Regions from separate parts of the Homo sapiens genome. Here region 1 is linked to region 2. Evidence: promoter capture Hi-C in 16 types of primary human blood cells and fetal thymus (Javierre and others, 2016). All regions are on one chromosome and are shown on one strand. Each heading gives the region's core, a stretch centred on a gene start or on the middle of the fragment in contact. The rest is flanking DNA. Distances are from core to core; before and after follow the strand shown.

What was found. The method cuts DNA at HindIII sites, captures the fragments that hold promoters and counts their contacts. A CHiCAGO score of 5 or more calls a contact.
Region 1: a contact is called between a fragment that was not itself captured here and the fragment with the promoter of PAXIP1-AS2 in region 2, in 1 of 17 cell types (naive B cells). The highest score is 7.8, in naive B cells.

The regions. Positions count from the first base shown.
Region 1 is chr7:155,447,771-155,450,797 of GRCh38, forward strand. The region is part of intron 2 of EN2-DT (EN2 divergent transcript); the gene reads right to left. Among named protein-coding and RNA genes, the nearest start is that of EN2-DT, 7.8 kb to the right of the region's middle. The HindIII fragment of the contact is 2,113 bases long and covers 237-2,349 here.
Region 2 is chr7:154,926,502-154,929,766 of GRCh38, forward strand. PAXIP1-AS2 (PAXIP1 antisense RNA 2) reads left to right here and starts at 2,016. Exons shown (of 8, transcript NR_024476.1): 1 at 2,016-2,266; 2 at 2,455-2,523. RefSeq lists enhancers at 2,097-2,156, 2,177-2,276, 2,427-2,646. The HindIII fragment of the contact is 7,419 bases long and covers 691-3,265 here.

The DNA.
Region 1 (3,027 bases), core at 43-2,542, 520 kb after region 2:
CCAAAGATATGGAGAAAGAATGTACCAGATGAACAAAGAGTCAGGACCAAAGGAAAAGAGCTCCCCTGAGGTGGCCATGGCTTGGAGGCTCAAGAACTGGCAAAACTAGACTTAGAACCTCAGGTGAGGGAGGTGGCTGGTGGATTTCATTGTGCCTTGAAGGACATTGTAAGGATGTGTCTAATTCTCATGCACATGGAAACCACTGGTTTTGACCAAGGGTAGGTCTGAGCTGAAGCTTACTCTGTTGTAGGGAGAGCGGTGGACCACAGGGCACATGTGTGAGGTGGAGAGCTGGTTAGGAGGCCATGCAACCCTGCAGGTGGAGGGGGAAAGGGCTTGGGGGCTGGTGGAGGACGCAGGAGTATGGGGGAGCTGTGGAAAAGACGTGGAGGCAGAGCCAGCAGGCCTTGCTAAGGGACAGGAGGTGGCTCTAGAGAGAAAATGAGGGATCAGGGATGTCTCCTGGGGGGTGGCCAGCTGGGTGACTGGGAGAAACTGGGAAGGCGCAGATCAGGGCAGCAGGGGTAGCGGGATCGGGGGTGCTCTGAAGTGAACACGTGAAATTGAAGGTGCTCGTCAGCCTTCCAGTGGAGGCATCCAGGAGGCAGCTGGAACTGGAAGGAAATGGTGACAGTCGTCAGCACCGTAGAGGTGGCGGTGGTGGTGGTTACAGCTGGACCCCTCTGGGCTGGTGGGAAGTGTGGAGGTGAAGGAGCAGGGAGCAGGGGGAGGTGGAGAAGGAAACCTCAGGCTTACATTTTCACCCTATTCTTGGCTGCCATATTTTCAGGAAGTCCCTCTTGAGGCTGGGACAGAGGGTGGGGACAGTTCAGTCTCCCTGAGAGAGTTTATTCTCGGAGGCCTGCGGTGGGAGCCAGGGCGCGGCGGAGAGGGTTTCCCACCTCTTCCCCAGCAAGCGGGAGGGAGGCGCCGGGCTGAGGCTGCGCTGAGCTCGAGCTCGCCGCCCGGGTGGACCCGCCCTGTTCAAGCGCGGAGGGGCGGAGGCCTGGTTGGGTTGTAGCGTGGTGCGGAGCAGGACGCCGCCTCGTGCCATGGTCACTGGAGACGCACGCCCATCTTCCCTCCCGGGCCCGTCGATCCTGCCATCTTCCGCTCCCGGCCGCTCGTGGGTGTTCGTCATTTAGACCTTCCCCGTGCTTCATGGGACGCAAGCCCTCCCCCAGAGTTCGGTTTTGCAAAAGAGGTCTGGAGCCCTCGCTACAGATCCCCTCCCTGGGCCACGGAGGATGAGAAGGGTCACCGAGCCGAGCCGTAATCCTGCGTAACCCCTGACCTCTCTCCTTCCCTGCCCCCACGGCACCCCATCGTCCCCTCCCCGTCTCCGAGGTCCTCCAGAAAACAGCGCAGAATTGTGCAGATGTTTAGGAGATGTGAAGATGCTGGAGATGCTTAGGAGGCGACGGTTACGCGAGGAGAATTGCTTCCAGGTGCGCTTCTGGAACGCACGGAGATCCCCCGGCGGGGAAGGGGCCGGGGCTCGCGTCACTTAGTGTCTGCTCACCGATTTCCCTCTGAAGAGGGGGCCCAGGGCCTCTGCTGAGGGAGCGGGGAGGCGGTGCGGGCCCCTCCCGGGCACACATGGGTGTCCGCTCCTTCCTCCCCCTCCCCTCCCCTCGCACGGAGAGCGGAGAGCGGAGAGCGGAGAGCGACAGGGAGGCAGCCGAAGACTTGAATTTTGAAAGGGGAGCTGGCGGCGAATGGTGAATGAGACAGCTACTTAGGAAGCGAGTCCAGCCAGCCCGGGAGGCGGTGGAGACCCACGCCCGGAAGTAACCGGATTAGGTCTCAGAATGTGATCGCCCCCCGGGTCCCGGGGGAGACGCCAAGGACGCGCAAGCGGAGGGCGCGGAGACAACTGGGAGTCAGAGTCTCCATCACTTGGGCTGGGAACGCCTCTGGGCGTTCCGACGGGGTGGCGGTGGGGGTCGGGGGAGGCCCTTGAGAACCGTGCGGCCCGGGGAGAGCCCACCCATTGCTGAGCCCCGACACAGGCTTTGAAGTTGCTGCAGTGGCTCAGCCCCTCCCCCGTCCGGCCCTGCGCAGCGCGGTGCCGCAGAGTCCAGGCCGTGCCTCCGTTTCGTCGCTCAGAGCTTATTGCGGCGGCTCATTGGACCACGTCGGTGGGGCGATCGCAGCCTCTGATCTGTGAGCTGCAAAGAGCTCCGAGGTTCATTCACAAATCTGCGCCCCCAGCCGTCCCTCCACGCACCCGAGCCACGTCCCGGGACCCGGAGAGCCCGGGGCGTTGGGCGCTGCGGAGGAGGCCCGGCTTCTGTCGCTCCCTTCACCTCCCAGCCCGCGAGGGACTTGGGGGAAGGGGGAGCAAGCTTTCGCTCCGGAAGAAACGTTCGGAACCAAGGAGTCTGACTCCTGGATCCGGGTGCCTGTTGGATCCAGGCTCCCACTCCCGGGCCCTCCGGTCGAACCAAGGGTCCCGACAGGGCCCGAGGCACCCGCATTCCTAGGAGACAGGAGCTCGGCCAGGGCGCATCACCGGGTCCTGCTCCGAGCCAGAGGATGTAGTGTAGACACCCACCCCCACACCGCCCCTCCACAGAGCTCCTCTCCCCTTGGGGCGTCGCTGGGCACAGGGCAGGTCGCTAGGAATCCCCAGTAAAACCACGCTCGCTCAGAGGTTCGCGGCTTCCTCAGAGGGCGCTGGGGAAAGAGAGGGGACCTGATTTCTTCGACCCTCGGAGGAAAAGTGCTCGGGGCCTCCTAGGGACACAGCCCTGGAAGCTCACCTCATCTTAGCTTAGGCCGCGGCGAGGTGGGGAGGAGAGTTAGGAGAGGGGGAGAGGGGCTCTGCGCCCTGCAGAGGCCTTTAATTCTGGAGGAAAAAGACTGGGACACACCCAAGCGAGCCAAGGCCCGAGCCCCACGCACCTCCACCCACCCGGGGCGGCGCACAGCCAGCTCCTGCCGGGCGTGAGCACTCGATCAAGGGAGCAAGTGGAATGAAAATCCAGCTGGGGGGGTCCCCATCGACACAACTGTCCCGCA
Region 2 (3,265 bases), core at 766-3,265:
TGGAGCACCCCTGTTTTCTTTTCTGCCTCCACTGGTTAACATTCTTTCCTTTTTCATTTTTGGCAACTCTTTTGAAAGTAATCATGCTTTTTGCAAAAATTGCAAAGTGGAAGGTTAGGTCCATTAGGGAGTTTCTAGGGGTATTGTGAAGGCCAAAATTGTGTGAATAGTTGTTTTAATTGTAAATTCATAATTGTATTAGCCTCGCTCTTTTGTTTGGCTTCCCTCTCTCTTTCTTCTTCAGTTAAGGTATCAGATAACCGGTCAATGAGACTGACCAAATCATGAGTATCAGAAGTGGCCCAACTTTGTCTTTTCATTGTTAGTTCCAATTCATCTAACTCATTTGTTAAACTGGAGTCGAGTATCATTTCGATGATTAGCACAGCTTTCTTCGGATAAAACTAAATATTCTTTAAAATTTTTTCCACAGCCCTCAAAGTATATTACTGACTCATCTGAATTTTGTTGATATTGTATTTTGTTCCAGTTGACTACTCTGAAAAACTGAGGAGATAGCCTGATGCAAAGCCTTTGCTGTTCTTCAAGCCTGTCTATGGTCCTCTTCTGAACATTTATGAAGATCCCTAACAGATTTCTCCAGTGAGCTTTGTCTAGCCAGCCTTTAGCTTTAATTTTTGCTACTAACATGTGAATCTGTTGCTAGAAGTCAGAATAACTAGGGTCATAAGCTTGGATATTTAATTCAAATTTCCTAGCAAAACCAATAGGAACCTGGTGAAGATCAAGGAATTCTTTTAACTATGCCTGTAAGTTTGATCATGATTGATAAAGCAGGTTCCCCTCTACCAGATGCTGGATGAAATGGAGCCAAACCAGTGGGAGCAGGAGGAGGGGCAGGAGGAGGAGGAGGAGAAGGTCAATCAGGGCTGGGTAGTTCTGACAAGGAGGCTTAGAGAGACAGGGGAGCAGGGAGAGAAGAAGACATTTCAGTGTTTTTTAAAATTCAGTAATGGTTTTAGAGTGCTTTTTATTTTCTTCCTCTAAGGGAAGAATTCTGTCAAAACCTCTTTTGGATGCTTCTGGGTGCCATTGGAAGTAACTCTCTTAATTATTTTATTTGATTCCATAGCTGGCTTTTTAAAATTGTGCATATAAATAAACTAATCTAGCTATTTCAAAGATAATTCTCTTTGATCATTGTAATTTAGGATCTTCTTAGGTCAAATAAGACCATTTCTCCAACTATCGACAGGAGGTGGCGCCATAAGTCTTGTACATAAACCCCGCTGGAGTTTCCAAAGGTGCATTGCTTAATGAGGGCTTGGTTATAGATGGATAATTGCTCATAATTTGGATTCTCTTTTAAAATGCCCAAAGGCTAAAAGGGAAAAGTGTTTGGGGTCCAGTGTGCTGCTTAGTAGGGATTATTCCTGGAGGTATCACCTACAAGTAGCTTCTTCCCTCTTACCTACCTCAGAGAAACCCAGACATTTCTGGGAGTTCAAGGCACTGGGTGACGAACCCCTTGTGTGTTGTGTGCCCCGGGGGTTAAGCAGCTCTCCCTGTGAGTTCTTCTCTGGGGTTTGTTGTGAGCTTCCACACCCTTGTGTTACCTCCATTGCCTAAGGTGCCTTTCAGCTGGGAGAAAGAGTCCTTTTTGTCTTCAGCTTATCACGTCCTCATTCCAACCTTTTACAAATTTTGGGTGACTCAGGAAGAAACTTTAAATCTCAATGTTAACCAAGATCCAAAGCCTGGCTGGTTTAAAGCCACAAATTTGGCTTAAGCCACAAACATTCACTTTCTCCTTTTACAAAGAAAACTGCTTTCTCTTTAACCAAATGTCAAATGAGAGAAAAGGTTACAAACTTGAGCAAGTAAAAAAATGTCCAATGAGAGAAAAGGTTACAAACTTGAGCAAGTAAAATGTCCAATGAGAGAAAAGGTTACAAAAGAGCAAGTAAGACGAACGAAAACTTAACCTAATAGAAAAGTGAAACCACAAACCTGCCAATAGCAGAATCTTTAGAGAAATGACGCGAAACTCCTGCCTTAAAGCCCTAAATGGCGGCTTCAATATCAGTCCCACTGAGCATGAAATTCATTTACTTAAATAAAATCTGAATCTCAGCCCAAACCTGGGAGATTCAAAACCTGAGAGCGGTCTTACCAAAGACGCCCGTATGTCTGGTGAAGTCAGTTGGATGCAAGCAGTTTGTGCTGGTACCAGGGCCCCAGCTACTGATGAAGTGGCAGGAGTCCACAGAAGCCTACTTCGAAGTTCCCGGGGCTTCCAGGGGAGGTGAGAACACAAGTGATGGGAGAGCCTGGGGAGGGACTGTCTGGTGAGTAAAGGTTGTGCTGCTCTGTGGATGAAATGTCTCTGAGGTCGTAAACATCTCAGAGCCGCCTTCGGGAGAACGGGTGATAGTCATCTGGGCTGATGTCACCTCCAGTGTCCTCTCCTGTGATCTGTGTTAATCCTCCCAGATTGACGAGATTCCTGGGGAGGCGATTCATGACAGCTGAGTTCCTTTTGGAGGATCCGTCTTCAGGCAGGTAAGGGGAGCTCAGAGGAAACCTCTGCCTGCATCCGCTGATTCCCAAGTGCCCTCAGCTCACAGGGATCAGCACTCCCAAGTGCCATGGGGGTGGCATTTCCTGAACTCCTTCAAAGCAATAACAACAGGCTGGGCGTGGTGGCTTACGCCTGTAATCCCAGCACTTTAGGAGGCTGAAGTGTGAGGATTGCTTGAAGCCAGGAGTTCAAGACCAGCCTGGGCAACATAGGGAAACCCTGTCTCTACAAAGAATTAAAAGAAAACTTAGCCAGGAATGGCAGTGCACACATGTGGCCCCGCCTACTCGGGAGACTGAGGTGGGAGGAGTGCTTGAGCCAGGTGGTTGAGGCTGCAGGGAGCTGTGATTGCACCACTGCACTCCAGCCTGGGCAACAGAGTGAGACTCTATCTCAAAACAAACAAACAACAACAACAAAAGTGAAACAATAACAACAACTTTTACAAAACGGACATTTGGGATCTACATGCCACACTCCTAAATGCGTCTCTTAAGCAACAGGTGTCACAGTCTTAAACCTTGTCCTTACCCTCTTCATTCTAGGCACCTGTTTCATTCCAGGTAGGGCTTCCTCCTGGTTTCCTAACACAGCGGGTTGAGATGAACAGCAGAGAAGGACACTGCACACCTCTGCAGGGTCTCCCCTCTGGCCCACCAGCCCTCCCTTCTCCAGCAGTGAAGACCTCACTATGTCATCCAGGCAGGAATAATATAGACAGAA